Linked DNA regions of Homo sapiens: all the other regions are linked to region 1. The links are contacts of gene promoters, found by promoter capture Hi-C in blood cells and fetal thymus (Javierre and others, 2016). All regions are on one chromosome and are shown on one strand. Each heading gives the region's core, a stretch centred on a gene start or on the middle of the fragment in contact. The rest is flanking DNA. Distances are from core to core; before and after follow the strand shown.

The links. Contacts are between HindIII fragments. The CHiCAGO score rates a contact against its expected background, and 5 or more counts as called.
Region 2: a fragment that was not itself captured here is called in contact with the fragment with the promoter of TMEM70 in region 1 in 1 of 17 cell types (total CD4 T cells); the score reaches 9.4 in total CD4 T cells.
Region 3: a contact is called between a fragment that was not itself captured here and the fragment with the promoter of TMEM70 in region 1, in 1 of 17 cell types (total CD4 T cells). The highest score is 5.7, in total CD4 T cells.

Annotation. Positions count from the first base shown.
Region 1 is chr8:73,974,413-73,977,605 of GRCh38, forward strand. TMEM70 (transmembrane protein 70) reads left to right here and starts at 1,783. Exons shown (of 3, transcript NM_017866.6): 1 at 1,783-2,079. The coding sequence starts at 1,870. RefSeq lists silencers at 1,572-1,651, 1,701-1,916, 2,082-2,131. The HindIII fragment of the contact is 7,182 bases long and covers 1-2,367 here.
Region 2 is chr8:109,536,040-109,539,017 of GRCh38, forward strand. PKHD1L1 (PKHD1 like 1) reads left to right here. Exons shown (of 78, transcript NM_177531.6): 78 at 1-1,168. Among named protein-coding and RNA genes, the nearest start is that of EBAG9UORF, 2.2 kb to the right of the region's middle. The HindIII fragment of the contact is 518 bases long and covers 1,073-1,590 here.
Region 3 is chr8:109,552,285-109,555,111 of GRCh38, forward strand. It overlaps EBAG9 (estrogen receptor binding site associated antigen 9), which reads left to right. Exons shown (of 7, transcript NM_004215.5): 3 at 1,581-1,659; 4 at 2,445-2,603. Among named protein-coding and RNA genes, the nearest start is that of EBAG9, 14 kb to the left of the region's middle. The HindIII fragment of the contact is 1,613 bases long and covers 473-2,085 here.

The DNA of each region.
Region 1 (3,193 bases), core at 533-3,032:
CACCCTTGTAATTCCAGCACTTTGGGAGGCTGAGGTGGGCGGATAGCTTGAGCCTCAGGAGTTTGAGACCAACCTGGGCTATATGGTGAAACTCCATCTCTACTATTAAAACAAATATTAAAATAAAAATAAACAAAATGTAAGTAGAAGCTAACTTTTTATAAAATAAAGTTATCCATATAGAGGTATTATCATTATCTCCTTCTGAATACTCCCCCCAATAGACAGTATTTGGAGTTGCCAACATGATCATATTCTATTGATTTATTTTTATTTTTATTTTTGAGACAGGGTCTAGCTGTGTCACTCAGTGCAGTGGTGCAATCAGGGCTCACTGCAGCCTCAACCTCTTGGGCTCAAGTGATCCTTCCACCTCAGCCTCCCAAGTAGCTGGGACTACAGGCAGGTGCCACCATGCCCAGCTAATTTAAAAATTTTTTGTAGAGACAGGGTCTCACTTTGTTGCCCAGGCTGGTCTCAAACTCCTGGAATCAAGTGATCCTCTCACCTGGGCCTCCACGTAGTATTGGAATTGCAGGCGTGAGCTCCCGCCCCTGGCCACACATTATTTTAGACTATGAATTTGTTCCTCTCCGGTGCAAATAACATGTCAAATCAAAAACATGTATAGTTCTGCAGTGGTAAACAAAAGTGTGTTTCTATTACTAAGATGCTCATCCTTCAAGACTGAGCTAAATGTGAAGCCAGTCTGAAGACATTCTGAGGCAAAATTAATCATGTTCTTCTTTGTACTTCTGTGGCATTTGTTTGTTCTTTTTTTTGAGACACGGTGTCACTTTGTGGTCCAGGCTGGAGTGCAGTAGTGTGGTCTTGGCTCACTGAAGCCTCGACTTTGGGCTCAAGCAATCCTACCATGTCAGCCTCCTGGGTAGCTGGGACCACAGGCACACACTTACCATGTGTGGCTTATTTTTGTTTTAGGTTTTTTTTTTTTTTTTTTTTTTGTAGAGACGGGGTCTCCCTGTATTGCTCAGGCTGGTCTCAAACTCCTGGCCTCAAGAGATCTTCCTGCCTAAACCTCCCAAAGCGCTGGGATTACAGGTGTAAGCCACCACGGCCAGCCACATTTTGTATATTGCGGTGTCTCAATTGTATTACATTATATTCTAGCCAATTTTCAGGTATTTTCCTCCACTGTTTAAGCACTGTGGATTCCCAGTTTAATCTAGTATTTTGTATCCTCTGCTCCTAGCTCAGTCCTGGCAATAGATTCAGTACCTCTTTAACAAGTAATGAATCAATGTGTATATGGATGTGAATGATTTCCGAAGACAAATCTGGTAACACCTATCAATATTACATGAACAATTCCATTTATTTTCCTCCAACCCGATGATTCAATTAAGTTATCACTCATTTTTGTTCAAATCGTATATTCTTTCTTCTGTGCCAACAGGCTAGAATCATTTTCCGCAAAGGAAACAGTTTTTAGTGATGTCGTCCACGAGAAAAAAAAATATTTAACCCTGGCTTCTGGGCATTGTCATTCTCGTACAGCCCTCTGCCCCTCCACACTGTTATAAAGAAGGTAAAATTCTAGGAAGGAGGAGCCGCTGAGCCAAGGACAGAGCGGCGGGCTCCCAGCTCAGCTGGCGGATAACGCGCGCGGCCGGGAAGGCGGCAGGCGGGCGGCAGGCGGGCGGCAGGCGGGCGGCAGGCGGGCGGCAGGCGGGCGGCAGGCGGGCGGCAGGCGGGCGGCAGATTCTGCGCACGCGCAGGCAGCCCAGCTGCCAGTCAGGCGTCCCGGGCTGGGCATGCGCCACTTGTGCGGCAGTCGGGTGGGAAGCCGTGTCTCGCAGTCGTGGACTCGTGCAGCTGGGGCGTCCGCAGCCGCTCGTCACCCGCGTGATGCTGTTTCTGGCGTTGGGCAGCCCGTGGGCGGTCGAACTGCCTCTCTGCGGAAGGAGGACTGCATTGTGTGCGGCCGCCGCGCTCCGAGGTCCCCGGGCCTCTGTCTCCCGGGCGTCCTCCAGCAGCGGGCCTTCGGGGCCGGTAGCCGGCTGGAGTACGGGGCCTTCGGGAGCCGCGCGCCTTCTCCGGCGTCCGGGTCGAGCGCAGGTAGGGCGTCCGAGGTCTGGTGTCCCAAGTGAGGCGGGGAGGGCGGGCGTCGTGTCGGGCCTGGGGAGCCCCAGCGGCTCTTCGCGACCTCTCCCAGGTGTCCGTGGCTGGAGCGCGGGAGGAGCCCCCTCTGCGGGGCTTGCAGAAGTAGCAGGCCGAGGGCCCCGGGGTCCTCAGCCTCCGCGAGTCCAGGAGAACGGCTGGAAAGTGCTTACTTTTATGGTAGTTCCAAATCCAGAGGGTTTGTGGTGACAACTATATGTAGTTCCTTTTCTGCCCTTGAGTAGAAGCTTAGAAGTGTTAATTTGCAAAAAATTGGATGCAGCACCTGGAAATAGAACCGAAAGAGCCAGGTTAACCTGACTTTGAGCTTGTTCTACTTTTATGAGGTGGCTGTACTTTTAAGAATTACTTTGGTCCCTGGGAAAAGGGGGATGCAGATGTTAATTCTTTTATTTTGATCTGAATAAATTGTCTTCTAATTCTACTCTGTAAAATATCAGGATTGGCAAACCTGGTTAAAACTTGGAAGAAATGCTTAAAATGGAAATTGGAATCTAATTACATTTCAGCATTGAGGAATTAGGCATGCCTTTTACATTTTGAAGTGTATACACTGTGAAACTCATTTTCAGATGTATGGGGAACGCTTCTGTTCCCTTGAAATTTGATGTAGGATTTCAAGTAAATTTTATTTCTTTTTTTTTGGAGGTGAAGTCTCGCTCTGTCACCCTGGTTGGAGTGCAGTGACGTGATCTTGGCTCACTGCAACCTCCGCCTTCCGGGTTCAAGCGATTCTCCTGCCTCAGCCTCCCCAGTAGTTGGGATTACAGGCGCGCTCCACCACACCCCGGCTGATTTTTTTTTTGTATTTTTAGTAGAGACGGGGTTTCACCGTGTTGGCCAGGCTCGTCTTAAACTCCTGACCTCAAATCATCCTCCTGCCTCGGCCTGTCAAAGGGTTGGGATTACAGGCGTGAGCCGCTGTGCCCAGCCAAATTTTATTTCTTGTCAAGAAATAAGAGGACCAGGGGATACACGGTATTTACAAGGTCTTTAGAGAAAGATTTGATCTCTTTAATACTATCATATAAATATTTTAGCAGTATTTGTA
Region 2 (2,978 bases), core at 82-2,581, about 36 Mb after region 1:
CCCTGTTTCCCTTTGTTAATATATTGCTAGTAGACATGTCTACTTCTGGTTGCTGATGACATAAAATTCACCTCTATTTCTTGGAAGCACTATTCCATGTTGTGAGCTAAAGGGGATTGTACTGATCTTGAAGATAACAAATCTGCCTGCTTCAAAGGTTTCACCGATTTTATTGCTGTGTTTCCAACACATTTCCACATATGGTATGATATTTAATTTGCAAAATAAATCCGTAAAGCAGGAATTACTAACCTAATTTTGCAGATGAGAAAACTGAGGCTTAAAGTTGTTCAAGGTCAAAGTCACGATGTCCATCATGCTGTAGCTCAATGAATGAGTCTCACATTGTTTCATGTTGTTTTATTTCTACTTTCTCAATCCATGTACAAGATAGATTTACAAACTACTGTTTTATGTTGGTTGTATGAATTTCAATACATTTACTGTTAGAAATAACAAAAGGTCTTAGACTGCCAGATGCTGTTCCCATCAACTCTACTTAATTCATAATATAGCTGAACTCTGTCATAAATCTAATAACGATGTGGACATTAGCCAGAAGTATGATGTGGCTGAACCTCACCACTGAACACAAAATGAGAATTCACCTCATCTTTTCATTTGAATTTATTTCTACTAAAATATATGTATTATTTTTCTTGATTTCTAACCAGGCCCCTTCTGAAGAAAACTGGTTAACTCTAAATTGTTACTAAATTTTGAATCTTCCTGTATTTAGCAATAAAAGTTACTGCTAATTGTAATAACAATTATGAGGAAAAATTTATTTAAATGCTTCATAGAAAGTTAATTTTCATTTAATAGAAAAGAAATAAAAAATCTGCTTCAGACTGTTTGATTTCTCTATTAGGCAATTGACCCTAACTAGTATATGGTGATTTTGAGTATTAAAAAAGAAGTTATAATTTTCCAGAATATTAATGTTTATTATTTTGAAAGCAAGTAAAATTCTCCAGTAGGAAGATTAATAAAACAATTCATTAAAATTCTCATCAGAAAATCCTATGCTTTCAAATGTATCTGCTCAAAGATGTCACTCTATGTGCGGCAAAGCTTTGTTTTACTTGATCAAGAAATGAATGTGACTTTATGATCTTGTATTCAACTGTGAACAGCTGCTCATTAATAAAAAGCCATTAAAGTCCAAGTCAGAACAGCAGGTCTAAAATTGTGTTTGAGGGAAAAAAAACCCACCCTTTGATGAAAAGCCAGGGAACTGGGTTGGGAAAGATCTGGAAGCAGAGGGCTGTGTTTGCAGTCTGCTCCTACCTCCTGGGCCAGGTCAGGTGACAAGGCCAGAGTTAGCCCCAGCTGGAGAAGTCAGAACAAAGCCTATGTAGGCTTTGAAAGGGGAGAGTAAGTGGTGGGCTGGAGGTTGATAGTGTGAATAAATCAAGCTGGTAATTGGGCAGAGGCTGATCAGAAGCGTTAAAGTGAGCAAAATGGTTTGGACACAGAGCAGACAGAATTTACTATATTCCATTGAGTAAAAGAAATTCATATGCCAGGTTCTATCCCTTATGTTCCTCCCATTTGACATCTGGTGGTTTCCTACCCCCGTCCCACACAAGCTTTGGGGAGAGGACAGGACTTAAAGTTCCCTGTTCCCAAGAGGTGGTCCCTAAACCCAATCCCAAATTATTGACTTGTGATCCCAATTATGGGCTTACTATTTAACAAGTAAAGATGATTTTAAAATATTATTTTATAGGTATTACTAAAGTAAATTTTAAATTTGCAGTCTTTAGCGAGCTTTGTTTTCTGTTTTGCTATTGTGTTGGGAAACAAGTACTCAGTAACTAGCTGTTTCTGGAAAAGTATATACATTTCGTTTTGTTTCATTTGGAAATGGCAAATTTAATAAAGAAAACTGAAGAATCAGGAAAAAGAAGAAAATATCCTTGGGCATAATAAATTGTCTAAAGCAATCAACTCTTTAAGAAAAAAAATTTAAACACGTTTATATCCGAATATAGGTTATTTTGGATTTTTTTTTTTTTTTTTTTTGAGTCAGGGTCCTGCTCTGTCTCCCAGGCTGGAGTGCAGGGCCCAATCATGGCTCACTGTAGTCTCGACCTCCCAGGCTCAGGTGATTCTTCCCACCTCAGCCTTCTGAGTAGCTGGGACTACAGGCATGCGCCACCAAACCTGGCTAATTTTTAAATTATTTGTAGAAACGGAGTTTCGCCCGTTGCCTGGGCTGGTCTTAAATTCCTGGGCTCAAGCGTTCCTCCTGCCTCGGCCTCCCAAAGTGCTGAGATTACAGGCATGAGTTACCGTGCCCAGCTAGATAACTCGATTTTTTAAATCCAAAAAAAATTTAGAAATTTTATATTGAAATTTAGGCATTAGAATTCTAGAGATTAAAGTTAGAGCAGGTGTTTAAGGGACTGAAAGGGGTTGCATGGCCTTTGGGAAATGCAATTACCGGAAATGATACTGTAGTAATGCAATAGTAATGCAGTAGTAGTAGTAGCTGCAGCAACAACTGTTATCTATGAATGTTTGCTATGTGCCAGGCTCTGTGCTAAGAGAGCTTTGCAAGCATTACTACTGCATGAAGTAGGCACTATTATGGCCATTTTACTGATGAGGAAATTGAGGTGAACAGATTAAATAATTTTACCCAACTTTACACAGAACCATTCCAGAGCACGAGCCATAAACACATCTTTCCCGTCTTGGAAATTAAATTATTAATAAAAAACGTGGTGCAAATTGGAAAGAGGACGGTTGTGGTAGATTATCACAAAGTTAAGTGGGTAGGTGGTTGCTGGGTCAGGGTGGGAGAACAAAGGCAGCTGTAATAAAAAAAAAAATTAAAGGCATATAAAGAAAAAGGCTTGTTGAGAACAATTTGCATAAACTGATTTTGGCCTTAGACCCTATTCACTTCTCCCTCACCAGTCACTTTGCAACTGTGGAGCATAGTATTCTGAGGGTCCCCTGCACATAAC
Region 3 (2,827 bases), core at 29-2,528, about 36 Mb after region 1:
TATTGCAAGAGAACAAGTGGGTGAAATGATCATCTCTGGATGATCACTGGGGCAGAAGTGAAGAAAGAAATGGAAAATTTAGGTGGTTGACTTGAAATCACCCAAGAGGATAGGATTTGGGAAGTAGAAAAAGGAGCAAACTAAGTGTTCAAATTACCAGAGAATGAGGAAGAGAATGGCCAGAAATTCACCAGGTAAAGCAACATTAAAAATGGGTATTAATTGCCAGAAGGCAGGAAGTTAAAAGAAGCATTGTGTTAACAGTGGTGATGAAATGTAGATGTTTTCTTCTTATACTTCTATTTTTTAAAATTTTCATTAAATATAGATTACTTCTAGGATAAGAAATTTTCTTGATGTAAAAATATTAAGGACATTCCTATTGGCACTATAAATTTCTGTTGTAAATGTATACATATTTAGAATTGATTGTATGTTCAGTTTTAAAGAAAACTGACCATATGTTAGGATAAGCTTCTCTTTGGTGTCTGAAGGAACCTTAGACCATGTATTTTAAAATACCAGACTTGGCTAGGCATGGTAGCTCATGCCTGTAATCCCAATGCTTTGGGAGGCCGAGGGGGTAGGATAGCTTGAGGCCAGGAGTTCAAGACCAGCCTGGGCAACACAGCAGGACCCCATCTCTATGGAAAGGAAAAACACGCTTGTATCATAAATTTCATAAAGGACTATATTACTTTTCTATTCACCCTTTAAACAAATATAGCTTTGAATCTGTAATAAAAATAGCTGACTTTATCGTTCTTAGTTCTTAGTTGATGCTTTTTTTTTTTATAGATTATTTGAAGTGAAGTAAATGACTAATTATCTCTATTACCTGCCATTTTTTGTATGTTGTGCTATGTAGCAGGCACACACTGTCTAGGGTTTTTAAATATGTCACTTAATTAAATCCAAACAACCCTGCAAAAGTGGGTTTGAATACCTGCATTTTATAGATGAGGCTGTTGAGGCTGAAAAGTAGGTAATTCTAACTAGACATAATAGAAGTAACATTGAAAACTGTGGTTTACACAGATTCCACAGCCCATGTTCTTAACAACTGAGTTATAGTACGTCCTGTTGAATGTGGTACTTTTCCTACTAATCCTTAAAAGTAAGTTACCATTTGGTTCAAACTAGTGATTTTTAAACTTCTTAATAGTTAATCTTATCAAGAAACCCCATGTGTAAAACATAAAAGCCAAGCCACCCTGTTTAAAACAGCAAAGGTGGCCCAGAACTTCACCCACAGAACCCACAGCACTCCAAGGAGCATGCTCTGAAACCGTCTTGCATTTTTATTTTTGACTTTATATTCCTCTTGAGTTTGTTTATAATTCTGAGTCCTAAGCCAAAAAGCAGTTATGTTGTTCTGTCCAAGATTTAAAAAACATTCACAGGATGTCTGATTTATGACTTTTTTTTACCATAAATTAGTGAGTAACTGTTACTAAAATCAATAATCATAAAATTGAGAAAGATCTTGTTTTATAAGCCTTCAATTACCATACATAATAGTGCTTTTACTTTGCTTGTTTTGGTGGTTCTTGAAATAAATTATTTCATTTTTGTTTCAGATCTGGCAGAGGACGGAAATTAAGTGGAGACCAAATAACTTTGCCAACTACAGTTGATTATTCATCAGTTCCTAAGCAGGTAGGTTTTTTTTGTGTGTTCTTTTGTTTTGTTTTGTTTTGAAAGATTGAATAAGTGTCCTAGAACAATATTTTAAAAACTGGATTGCAGATCATTAATAGAAATTAATTTTTGTTGTGTTGTTAAATTTATCTGGTCTGAAAATTCTATTTGGTTCTACATTTTATCTTCTGTTTCTTTGTTGACATTTTCTATTGTGTTTTCATTGGTTTCAAGTGTTTGCTATTGTTTGTTGGAGCATTTTTATAATAGCTATTTTAAAGCCTTAGAGAATTCCAACATATCATTTTGGTGTTGGTATCTGTTGATTAACTTGCCTTGCAAATTTAGATGTATTGTTTTTATATGCTGAATAATTCTGGGTTGTTTCATGAACATTTTGAATACTATGTTTTGAGACTTCATCTTATTTAAATCCTGTGGAGAAGCTTGGTATTTTTTATCAGATGATCAATCTGGATAGGCTTGGGTGAAAATGTCCAGCCCTTCTGTGAGTTGTAGTTTTAATGTCAGTTCAGTTTTCAGAGCATTTGCTTTCGTTTTACTTTGTTTTTTGTTTTTTGATGGACATAATAGAATAAAATAGAACAGAATATATCAGAATGTCTTGTATTTTTTGAACTTTTGATCAAGTTTTGATCTGTGATATGAAATGTATGTTTTCCCGTGGGTTAAAAAAGTTTGAAAACCAGTGTTTTAGAAAGCCCATTTTTCTAATAAATCATCAATGATGTGTTCATTAAGTTGCCCCTTTGTGGCTGATAATGTTGATCAATTAAATTTAGACAGATGTTGAAGAGTGGACTTCCTGGGATGAAGATGCACCCACCAGTGTAAAGATCGAAGGAGGGAATGGGAATGTGGCAACACAACAAAATTCTTTGGAACAACTGGAACCTGACTATTTTAAGGACATGACACCAACTATTAGGAAAACTCAGAAAGTATGTTAAGATTTATGCTTTTGGAGATTAAACTACTTTTTAGATTCCTATAGTTAAAATTAGGTGATACAATTCACATTTATTAGAAAGCCTATTTCTTTTTTTTTTTTTAATACTTTAAGTTTTAGGGTACATGTGCACAACATGCAGGTTAGTTACATATGTATACATGTGCCATGTTGGTGTGCTGCACCCATCAACTCGTCATTTAACATTAGGTATGT